Regions from separate parts of the Homo sapiens genome. Here region 1 is linked to region 2. The links are contacts of gene promoters, found by promoter capture Hi-C in blood cells and fetal thymus (Javierre and others, 2016). All regions are on one chromosome and are shown on one strand. The core of a region is centred on a gene start or on the middle of the fragment in contact, and the rest is flanking DNA. Distances in the headings are between cores, read along the strand shown. Region 1 overlaps SLC44A5 (solute carrier family 44 member 5). Region 2 holds the start of RABGGTB (Rab geranylgeranyltransferase subunit beta).

Evidence for each region. Contacts are between HindIII fragments. The CHiCAGO score rates a contact against its expected background, and 5 or more counts as called.
Region 1: a contact is called between a fragment that was not itself captured here and the fragment with the promoter of RABGGTB in region 2, in 1 of 17 cell types (M2 macrophages). The highest score is 5.1, in M2 macrophages.

The regions. Positions count from the first base shown.
Region 1 is chr1:75,340,818-75,346,711 of GRCh38, forward strand. The region is part of intron 3 of SLC44A5 (solute carrier family 44 member 5); the gene reads right to left. Among named protein-coding and RNA genes, the nearest start is that of LHX8, 210 kb to the left of the region's middle. The HindIII fragment of the contact is 1,500 bases long and covers 2,369-3,868 here.
Region 2 is chr1:75,782,757-75,788,645 of GRCh38, forward strand. It overlaps RABGGTB (Rab geranylgeranyltransferase subunit beta), which reads left to right and starts at 3,500. Exons shown (of 9, transcript NM_004582.4): 1 at 3,500-3,518; 2 at 4,741-4,848. The coding sequence starts at 3,516. It overlaps SNORD45C (small nucleolar RNA, C/D box 45C), which reads left to right and starts at 4,316; the gene lies at 4,316-4,393. It overlaps SNORD45A (small nucleolar RNA, C/D box 45A), which reads left to right and starts at 5,133; the gene lies at 5,133-5,216. RefSeq lists enhancers at 2,082-2,301, 3,242-3,471 and a silencer at 3,532-3,591. The HindIII fragment of the contact is 7,492 bases long and covers 1-4,230 here.

The DNA.
Region 1 (5,894 bases), core at 1,869-4,368, 440 kb before region 2:
TAAACCTCGCAAACAAGAGAAGCAGAGAAATCTGGCTTTCAGAAAGAAGTTATTGAAGTAAATGTTCAAAGAGAAACAGAGACAATGGTCCTAATGGCATTTATCTTGTGGTCTAGTTCCTACCTGAAGCCCAGCGTTGAGTTTCATGAGATACCTTATAGTCTTAAACTGCATTCCCTTTTCTCACTTTTAACTAGTTCAAATTGGTTATATGTAACAAAAGAGCCAAAGAGTCCTATTAATAATTCGTTCTCTCTTGGCTTACATTTTAACTATTTATTTTAACAACATTTTTTGGATCCTTGCCATGAACACTGGTGTGAGGATATGAAGAGGAATTTTTCAGACTAAGTCTGCCTTTATGAATCTCATACTTGAATAAGAAATATAAGCTCGAGAGGGCCGGACATGGGTGGCTCACACCTATAATCCTAGCACTTTGAAAAGCCAAGGCTGGTGGACTGCTTGAGGCCAGGAGTTCCAGAGCAGCCTGGGTAACCTGGCAAAACCTCAGATTAGCTGGGCGTGATGGTGCACACCTGTAGTCCTAGCTATTCCAAAGGCTGAGGCATGAGAATCCCTTGAACCCAGGAGGCGGACGTTGCAGTGAGCTGAGATTGTGGCACTGTACTCCAGCTTGGGCGAGAGAGCAAGACAGATGAGAGAAAGAAAAGAAAGAGAAAGGAAGGAAAGGAAGAGAAAAGAAAGAAAAAGAAAGAAGGAACGAGAGAGAAGAAGGAAGGAAGGAAGGAAAAAAGGAAGGAAAGAAAACATAAGCTGGAAACATCATTTCAACACTGTGTGGTAAGAGCTGTGATAGAGAATGCTGTGGGGCACAGGGCGGGTCACGAATGAACAGGCTTCACAGGCTCCTAACACTCAGCTCTGGCTTCATTTTCTGCTCATGCTCTGACCCTGTGCTCTTTGACTTGAATCTTTCACTCTGATGTTGAACAGTAATATTTGCATCATTCCTGGTTCTAGATTTCAGTTCCCTAATCTGTCTGAATAGCTGAAATAGCTCAAAAACTTTTAGGGGTACAAGATTCCAACAATCCCCCATATCAAATATTCTAATTCCATAGATCTGAGGAATGGGCCTGAGAATCTGTATTTTTAGATGACCCACTAACTGACTCTGATGCACAGACAGATTTGGGAACCATTAATCTATTTGATTTTAGTCTCAATTTAATAAGTACATCCCAGTTTACACACTGTCATTATGTCTAGTTCTACTTAACAGACCAACCTAATGGAGAAAATGAGGAGAAAAGCAGGTCATCATGATGTGTATGAGTTTTGGGAGACACTACCATTAGATGTGAGGAGCCAGTGAAAGAGTTTTAGGAAGAGACACAGACATTCAAGAAAGTCAAATAATTTCAAGAAAAAGGAAAGATCATAAACTCTATAAAATTTATTCTTATTTGTACCAGGGACTACCGTAAGTTCTTTACATGTAGGTCTGCCATCTTGCACAATTCCACATAGAACGCAATGTGAATTGTACTTCTCTGAGCACTGCAATGCAATAGCCCTAGTGTATTTATTATGTCATTTAATGTTTCTAAAAATTCATGCCATTTCAATGTAATAAAATATGCCATTATTATTATTCTATTTTACAAATGAGGAAGTTGGGGTACAGAAAGGTGAGATAATTTTCCCTAGCTCACTCAGCTAACAAGAGGCGGAGGTGGCATTGGAAGGCAGACTGTCCAACTCCAAACAAAGCCTGTGTTGAACCATTTAGCAGTAAGTTACTCACTGGTCATTTTAAAGTAATCCCACAGATGAGTAAGGAGAAGACAGGTTTAAAGGGGTTAACAACTTCTATTGATTTTGTAATTATTTGCTGTTTACATTAAAGGTAGGCAAAACCAGCTTAAAAGTATTTAGGCTGGCTTCCAATCTTCCTGTGATTTGTACCTCACCAAGTGAGAAAGTGGATTGCAGTGTAAATGAAATGCCATTGTCGAATCTGCCTGAAAAGCTGACATTTTCTGATTGTAAATACTGGCTGCTTTATTTTTCAGTTGAAAATACACCAAAACCAGTCAGATGATAAGATTGAGCTGATTCTGTATAGTAATGACAGCTGGAAAGTGATTACTTCACCCTGCCCCCATGTGCTGTCAGAATTTGTATTGTCATGCAAATTTTTTATATCCTGCAAATCAATAGAGGGCAGTGCTTTTATAGGGGCCCTCACGTACTCTAATTGCGTCTCTGGAATAAATAGACTGAAGGGCCAGCTAAATGAAAAAAGCCACAGTGGTTCGCTGTCATGTGGCTTAGCTCCTTGAATGCAATTCATATTTCTCACTTAAAGACAAAAAACCCTAAAATTATATAATATTTTATAAGCTTCTTAAGTCATTTGACTTTCTGATCACCAAGTTTATTGTCTTGCAACAGTAAATTTAGAATCATTGAAAAACATTTATAAAAGACAGCTACACATTTGTTGTGGTGGTTAACAGTTGGTATTGCAGCCATACAATGCAATTTCCAAACCAGAAATAATTCATGAAGATTAAGGAAAATAGTTCAGGTAACTAATTCAATTCATAGGGGCAGATTTCACATGGCTCCATTGAAAGCAAATGGCAAGATAAAGCAGCCAGTGATGCTTAGAAAGACTCTTTTCTTTAAAAGTAATCTGTTTCTCAAAGAAAATGACAATATAACTACCATTGATAAGCTATAAAAAGTAAAAATCCAAAACATTTGATTTTATTCCTGCAGGAATATTCTCCTTCTGAGAACCTAATATTAATTCAGAGAGCAAAAAAGGAACTCAGGTGGGATGAATACATGTTCTAGAACTTAAAAGAGACCTACTGTGAGTAAGCAGGTCAGATTACTTTCCAGTGAACATGGAAAAATGGAGCAGTACAAAATTAAGACTTTAATATACAACAATAGCCAGCAGAGAAATGTGAATACTTAAGTACGTGTTTTGTTTTATTTTTAAAACATGCTTTATAGTATGTCTATAAAAGAGGGCCTGTCATTTCATTCAAAGAAAGGGTTCTGTTTTCCTCTAAGTCCCACCAAATAATAAGGAATCATGTTCTTAGCCATTTCTTACAGGATGATGTTCCCACTTCTTAGCCCAACACACATGGCTTTTTACGATATGGCTCATCTCACCAGTCTTATTTCTTATAATGCCCCTCTTTTAACTTGATCTTATGCAATTCTGTACTATGTATGGTTCCCCCCTTTTCATATTCATATTCTGTTCCCTCTGAGCAATGTGACTTTCTCCTCCTTATTCCCTTGGTGATGGCTAAAGGAGGCCTACACTTCCCCTCACAAACTTCCTACTGATTCTCAAGAAGGACAAGAACAAAGACATTCTACTGGCCACTGTGCCAAAGTGGGCCAAAGTGAATTCCACCCACTTTGACAGGAGAAGAATCCTGAGAACTTTCAAAGAATTCCATTCCAAAGCAGCTAATTCCATTAATCTCTGAGACACAGTACTTCCATTTGCATTGTTGAGCTTAGGACACTATAATACAGGTTATCTGTTTTCATGTTGTGGTAGACAGAATAATGGCCTCCCAAAGATGTTCACATCCTAATCCCTGGACCCTGTAAATGTTACCTAATATAAGGAAAGGGATTTTGCAGATGTGAATAAATTAAGGACCATGAAATGGTGAGATTAGCCTGGTTTATCTGGGTGAGCCCAATGTGATCACAAGGGTACTTCTATAGGGAAAAGGGAGGCAGATGAGTCAAAGAAGGAAATGTGACAACAGAAACAAGGTTGGAAAGATGCAATGTTAGAAAAACTCAACTGGCTATTTCTGGCTTTAAAGATGTAAGAGAGTCATTAGCCAAGGAATACAGAAGCTTCTAGAACCTGGAAAAAGTAAGAAAATGGATCTCCCCTGGACATCCTGCTAATCCCTTGATTTTAGCTCATTGAGATGTATTTTGGACTTCTAACATCTAGAATCGTAAGATAATAAATTTGTGTTTTTCTAAGCCACACTTAGAATTGTGTGGTAATTCATTACCACAGCAATAGGAAGCTAATACACATGGCTATTTATCCTACTGGATTACTACATAGTTTCTCTAGGGCAGAAATGAGATCTTGGTTATTTCTCTGTTCCTGTTACCTACATTAGTGCCTGTTGTACACATAGCAGGCATTCAGTAAATATTTACAAGATAAGTTTTAAAAGAATGTCAATGTAATTTTGATATCTTATATATTTAATTTAGATTATGAAAATACAACTAAAGGATCAATCTTGGCAGTCACCAGCAAATCACTTTAGATAAATTTCAACTTAGATTAAAGGAAGTTAATAGACTCCTAGAAGTGCACCGATGTGAAAAATTACTCCCCTTATCACCAACACTAATTCAGTATCTGATTGTAATGTCAAGGCAAGTAGAAGCTGACAAAGGAAGTAAGGGAGAAAGTATCCCATATTGGTGAATAAAAACTGGGTATCAAATTAACTGGTATAAAATGTTATTTCTACCATCTATAAGCAGTATGATCTTGGGAGAATTACTTTTTGCCCCTCTAACCTTCCATTTTTTCATCCATAAAATGATAGATAATGGAGGGAAAAAAAGTTGGGAAACAATTTCTACCTTCAGAGGGGACCAACTAATATGGGAAACAGTAAAATGTAAATTACCCACATAACTAAAGCGATCAGTGTAGAATCAGTACAAACCAACTTGTTGAATTGACACGTTGGCTACAAATAATACCAATAATTCTAGAAGGATTTCAGTGACTAAGCTGGGTGTGATGGTTATGGAATAACTTTTAGAAGGAGAGAAATTTTAACCATACTTAGAGGAAAGAATGTGTCATGTGTGAAAGCTAGACAACAGCACATACTTAGCTGTAACAAAGAGCTATGCCTAGGGAACAAGACATGACAGCAGTTAGAGGAATTAAGCACATTACCAGGAGTTGGAGAAGGACTTACACCACCCCCAAAGTCTTCTAAATAAGCAACATAATTGTTATGTGTTTATATATTTGATGCAGAGGAAATAAGAAAGTTAAGGCAGATGAATCAATGAGGAAATGGCTGTTGTATTTCAGACATAAGATGGTAGATGCCTGGCTGAGGCTGTAGCTGTGAGAGAGGATGAGGTAATTCAGGAAGCATTACAGAGGAATACATTTGTTGGGGGTGAAAGAAAGGGCATGGTACCCTACATCATCACCTAATGATGACAACGCCTCATGCAGAAAATGATGAGCATTCCCAAAACTCATCTCAGGCAGAAACATGACCCCACATTGGACATGGCATGATTAATGGAAATGCAAATGAGATTCCTTCAGCACTGATTTCAAACCAAACAATACAGTGGTATCATGACCTATGATGGTTGTTTTTCCTCCCAGTCTGAGTAACTTCCTAAATAAGAGATGATGAATCACCTTATATTCTACCAAGAATGTCAAATCTCCTGTTTTAAGAAACATTTTCCAAATCACTAGGATGTTTTTTAAGTAGTTTGCATCATCATTTGAAATAATTTGCTCTATATGAACACAAATCATAAACAATTCAGTTATAACCTTAGAAGTAACAACTAAAAGAAGCACCTCAAAAGAAAAAATATATAAAGCACTCAGGCTGCCTCTTAACAGACTGATTTTATAGGCAGTGCTGAAGAATGGACGTTTAGGGGGCATTTGAAATGCACTTTTGAAAAACTGATTTTTCTTGATTAGTGTGACAAAGCAGTGAATTTGTGCTATAGAACAGCCATGAATTATTGGATAATCACACATCATCTCAGAATAAATAAATTCTGAATCAATAGTGATTTAAAAAGAAAGTCTGGAAGCAAACAAGAACATGAATTGAGCTTGAAGGTTATCAACTTGG
Region 2 (5,889 bases), core at 2,250-4,749:
ACTACCATCACAGTGAACAGGCAACCTACAGAATGGGACAAAATTTTTGCAACCTACTCGACAAAATGTTTGCAACCTACTCATCTGACAAAGGGCTAATATCCAGAATCTACAATGAACTCAAACAAATTTACAAGAAAAAAACAACCCCATCAAAAAGTGGGCAAAGGATATGAACAGACACTTCTCAAAAGAAGACATTTATGCAGCCAAAAAACACATGAAAAAATGCTCATCATCACTGGCCATCAGAGAAATGCAAATCAAAACCATAACGAGATACCATCTCACACCAGTTAGAATGGCAATCATTAAAAAGTCAGGAAACAACAGGTGCTGGAGAGGATGTGGAGAAATAGGAACACTTTTACTGTTGGTGGGACTGTAAACTAGTTCAACCATTGTGGAAGTCAGTGTGGCAATTCCTCAGGGATCTAGAACTAGAAATACCATTTGACCCAGGCATCCTATTACTAGGTATATACACAAAGGATTATAAATCATGATGGTATAAAGACACATGCACACGTATGTTTATTGCGGCACTATTCACAATAGCAAAGACTTGGAACCAACCCAAATGTCCAACAATGATAGACTGGATTAAGAAAATGTGGCACATATACACCATGGAATACTATGCAGCCATAAGAAAGGATGAGTTCATGTCCTTTGTAGGGACATGGATGAAGCTGGAAACCATCATTCTGAGCAAACTATCGCAAGGACAAAAAACCAAACACCCCATGTTCTCACTCATAGGTGGGAATTGAACAATGAGAACACAGGGACACACGAAGGGGAACATCACACACCGGGGACGGTTGTGGGGTCGGGGGAAGGGGGATGGATAGCATTAGGTGATATACCTAATGCTAAATGACGAGTTAATGGGTGCAGCACACCAACATGGCACATGTATACATATGTAACAAACCTGCACGTTGTGCACATGTACCGTAAAACTTAAATAATAATAAAAAAAATCAAAATAAAATAGAAGTTGAAGAAAAGGAAGAAAAACAAAGTCAGGAAACAACAGAAGCTGGATAAGATGTGGAGAAATAGGAACACTTTTACATTGTTGGTGGGAGTGTAAAGTAGTTCAACCACTGTGGAAGACAGTGTTGTGATTCCTCAAGGATCTAGAACTAGAAATAGCATTTGACCCAGTGATCCCATTACGGGGTATATACCCAAAGATTATAAACACACATGCACACGTATGTTTATTGGGCACTATTCACAATAGCAAAGACTTGGATCCAACTCAAATGTCATCAACGATAGAGTGGATTAAGAAAATGTGGCACATATACACCATGGAATACTATGCAACCATAAAAAAGGATGAGTTCATGTCCTTTGTGGGGTCATGGATGAAGCTGGAAACCATTATTCTGAGCAAAGTATCACAAGGATAGAAAACCAAACACCGCATATTCTCACTCATAGGTGGGAATTGAAGAATGAGAATACCTGGACACAGGGCAGGGAACATCACACACAGGGGCCTGTCATGGTGTTGGGGGAGGGGGGAAGGATAGCATTAGGAGAAATACCTAATTTAAATGATGAGTTAATGGGTGCAGCAATCCAACCTGGCACATGTATATCCATGTAACAAACCTACACGTTGTACACATGTACCCTAGAACTTACAGTATAATTTTTTTAAAAAAAGTAACTTCCAATATTTTTACTATTAGCACTCTCCGAAGAAGTGTTTGTGGTGGCGGTGGTGGTGGTGGGGAGGGTGGCCTGTGTGTGTGGCGAGGAGAGGGGGCGGGTACAGGGCTGGACCTTGAGATAGATAAGGCAAACAGGAAGGAAATGTGAACATTTCATTAATATTCATTTAAAAAATATTCATTGAACACTTACTACGTGTAAGCAGGCACTCTACTAATTAACAGCCATTTCAGATTTTCAGAGTGCAAAGGGCCTCAAGAACAAATGATTTATTTTTTTGAGACATGGTCTCGTTCTGTCTCACACCCTGCAGTGCAGTGGCATTATCACCGCTCACTGTAGCCTCCACCCCCTGCCCCACAGCTCAAGTAATTCTCTCACCTCAGCTTCCCCAGTAGCTGAAACCACAGGCTTGGGCAACCACGTCTGGCTCATATTTTTATTATTTGTAGAGACGGGGGTCTTGCAACATTGCCCAGGCTGGTCTGGATCTCCTGGAACCGCCTTTGCAAAATTATAACTGAGGAAATTATGGCAGTGAAAGAAATCAGACCTAACGGATTCCATCTTGCTTCTAACTTTTGTTTTTGAGACTAGTCTCGCTCTGTCGCCCAGGGTGGAGTGCAGTGGCGTGATCTCTGCTCACTGCAAGCTCCGCCTCCCGGGTTTAAGCCATTCTCCTGCCTCAACCTCAGGAGTAGATGGGACTACAGGCGCCCACCCCCACGCCCGGCTAATTTTTTGTATTTGTAGTAGAGACGGGGTTTTAGCCAGGATGGTCTCGATCCCCTGACCTCGTGATCCGCCCGCCTTGGCCTCCCAAAGTGCTGGGATTACAGGCGTGAGCCACCGGCCGCTTCTAACTTTTAAGCTGTCCTTCTTCATTCCTGAGCCTAGGCTGAACCAATTTAGGGAGGAATTCAGTTTATGGTTTGACTCTGAAACAAAATTGATAATATCCCTTTCCCAAAAAGACCGCTTTTTTGCCTGGGGACCAGTCTGCCTTTGCAGAACCAACAGATTAGCTACAAGATTAGAAATTACAGTTTAGAGGTCATGCAGCCTCTGGCTCCAAGTTTCTGAACCTCCCCAAATTGCTCCTGGGGATAACATCACTATTGTAAAACCTAAGATAAGTTCTTGAGATATTTTGCAGACCCTGCTCTCCATGGATCAGTTGAAACCACCCAGATTGGTAATTTGGCTCAACCAGTTCTGCCATCCTACCCAGGAACAGAAAACAGCAAGAAAAACTCACGTCTACCCACTATGAGTCCATCTCCAACCTGACCCATCAGCACTCCCTACTTCCCAAGCCCCTAATCGCCGAATTATCTTTAAAAACTCTGAATACTGCTTGGGGAGACTCCATTGCAAGTCCCCTGTCTTGATAAATGGGCTATCGGTCAGCAGCAGGCAAAGTGAACCACAATATTGGGTGGTTACACTCCTAGGATCAAGCAATCCTGCTGTCCGGCTTCCCAAAGTGCTGGGATTACAGGCGTAAGCCACCGCGTCCAGCTAGAACAAATGATTTCTTAAAAGCAACTCAGATATTTAAATATTATTTAAAACTGTTTCTAGACAAATCGGAGTGACTATGGGACAAGCATATGGTCGCAGGACTTTGGACGCAGGCAGTGAGGACACCTATGAGCGATCAGTGGGGTCCTACGGCAGCCGTGGAACTGCTCTGCCTTGCAGGCGAAAGTGTGGTCAGCTATATCGGAGCGCGATGGGGGCCTGAGAGGCGCATCTGCGCAGGCGCCCGGCTCCTAAGTCTACCCAGGAACTGACCCTGCTCTCTCCTTTCCCTGTTAGACATGGTAAGTGTGAGTTTAGCGCTGCTGTCCGGATGGGTTGGTAGCAGACAGGGTGGAGTAGGGTTAAGCACACTGGTCACCTTAGGATTGGTTTCCTGGTGCTGGAGAATGGTTAGGACACAGGCCTTGGAAGGTTTTTTGAGTGTGAAATATTACTCAGCGTTTTCTGCAGACCTCGCGGGCAATGCCGCTTCTAATTTTATCCAGGCCTTCTTCTGTAGGGAGGGCCTGTTAAGAGTTGAGCAGCCCGATTTCTGAACCCCTCTAAAAAGCTGTGGCTGATTGGTGGCTTTTTTTTTTCTTGGAGAGGGGGTGTCAAAGATTTCTTTAAAATCGTTAGTGATGTGGTCTCGCTTTAAGATTTTTAATGGGATCAGAAGAAAATTCGGTACTTAATCACTTCCGGTAATCTTCATGACCTGTTATAGTGACTGCAGTGTACTCTCAATGAGGAAGATATAGATACGAAAAGAACTAGAGCCGCATCACATGGGGACTTCTGCAAATACAGAGACTCGGATTAAAGGTGGAGAAGATGGAGCTAAAGGAACTGCTTATTTAATACATTTGAACAACTTTTGGGGTACTTAGAAGGTGCTTTGAAACCTGCATTTGATTAAGCAAGAATTCGCTTGCAAGTTAAGGGTTAGATTTTTTTATTTTTTAAAAATATGCTTTCTGCCACATGTAAACCGTAAGTTGTCCTGAAATGATAAGCTTTGATATTCTATGGTGTTTATTTTTTACTTATCTTTTTGAATGAAAAGTGAACAACAAGAAATGCTGGTGGTAATTTTTTGGGTCAATGATGAGTTGGCATGTATTCTGAATCTAAAGTTGATTATTACTACTTTAGCTCTAGAATTACTCTGAGACCTGAAAATTACCTGAATCGTGACTAAGACGAAGCCTGAATGATTTAAGTTCTTTTTTGTTGGATACAATTTGTTGTTGTTGTTGTTGTTTTGGTTTTGTTTTTGAGTCGGTCTCCGGTCGCCCAGGATGGAGTGCAGTGACACAACCTCAGTTCACTGCAGCCTTAATTTCCCTGGCTCAAGCGATCTTCTACCTCAGCCTCCCTAGTTAGTTACAATTTTTAAATGGAACGTTTTCCTATTACAAGATGAAATCAAGTGAAAATTGAGATGTATGTTGAATCTATGCTGTGGGGCAGAAGAACGTTGTAGAGGTAAACATTGATGAGATTACCACTTTATTTTGAAAGGGCACTCCACAGAAGGATGTTATTATCAAGTCAGATGCACCGGACACTTTGTTATTGGAGAAACATGCAGATTATATCGCATCCTATGGCTCAAAGAAAGATGATTATGTATGTATAATTTTTTTATGTTGGAAAGTTTATTTTAAAGAAGTGTGACAGTCATAAGCAGTGAGACAGTATTTATGTCTTAAAATGGCATCCAACTCCATGCAGAGAACTGAGGATGTGCTGTGCCTTTGAACTTCAGTTAAGTGTGCTTTGGACGTCTGAGGCTGTGGGCTTATTAGAATCTCAGTTTTTACCTATACTGAGAGGGCTTGCCAGACAAAGTAGATGAGGGTTTGAGGTACAAAACGGGTTTCTCTTTTTGTAGTTAGGGGTAATACTTTCAAGGTCAATGATGTGTTGGCATGTATTATCTGAATCTATTGCTGATGTGTAATAACACTTTAGCTCTAGAATTACTCTGAGACCTTGAAAAAGTTTTACCTTAAATTTTTAAATTTCGAGGAAAACTCTGGGACAATCTTAGCAAAAAGTAGTAAACAACTTAGTTAAGAGTAAATGTTTTTCCCTGTAGTATCCAAACTCAGTTGTCTTAGTCTACCGATTTGTGGGATATATGGTATGTATTAATTTTTTACTTAAGTGTTAGGTTCCCATAACCTTGAAAATACTCTATTAGCAATCATGGAGTTAAGGCCATATGGATGGGGCTGGACTCGTTTCTGCCTTTATCTGCTATCTATCTTTATGCCCTGAATTTGGGTTAGTAGCAAACTAAGATGCACCACCTGTTAAAAAAACTTCTTTTTTTCCTTTTGAGAGCTATAACCTCACTTTGTTGCCCAGACTGGAGGACAGCGGTGCGATCTGGGCTCACTGCAGCCTCCATCTCCTGGGTTTAAGTGAGCCACCTGAATAGCTGGGATTACAGGCACATTCCACCATGCCCAGCTAGTTTTTGTATTTTTCGTAGAGACTGAGTTTTGCTATGTTGGCCAGAGTGGTCTCAAACTCCTGACCTCAAGTGATCTGCCTGCCCCAGCTTTCCAAAGTGCTGGGATTACAGGCAGGAGCCACCACCCAGCCACAAAACTTCTTAAAATATAATGCATTGTTGAGTGTGGGAAAAATTTGTTTCTGGAA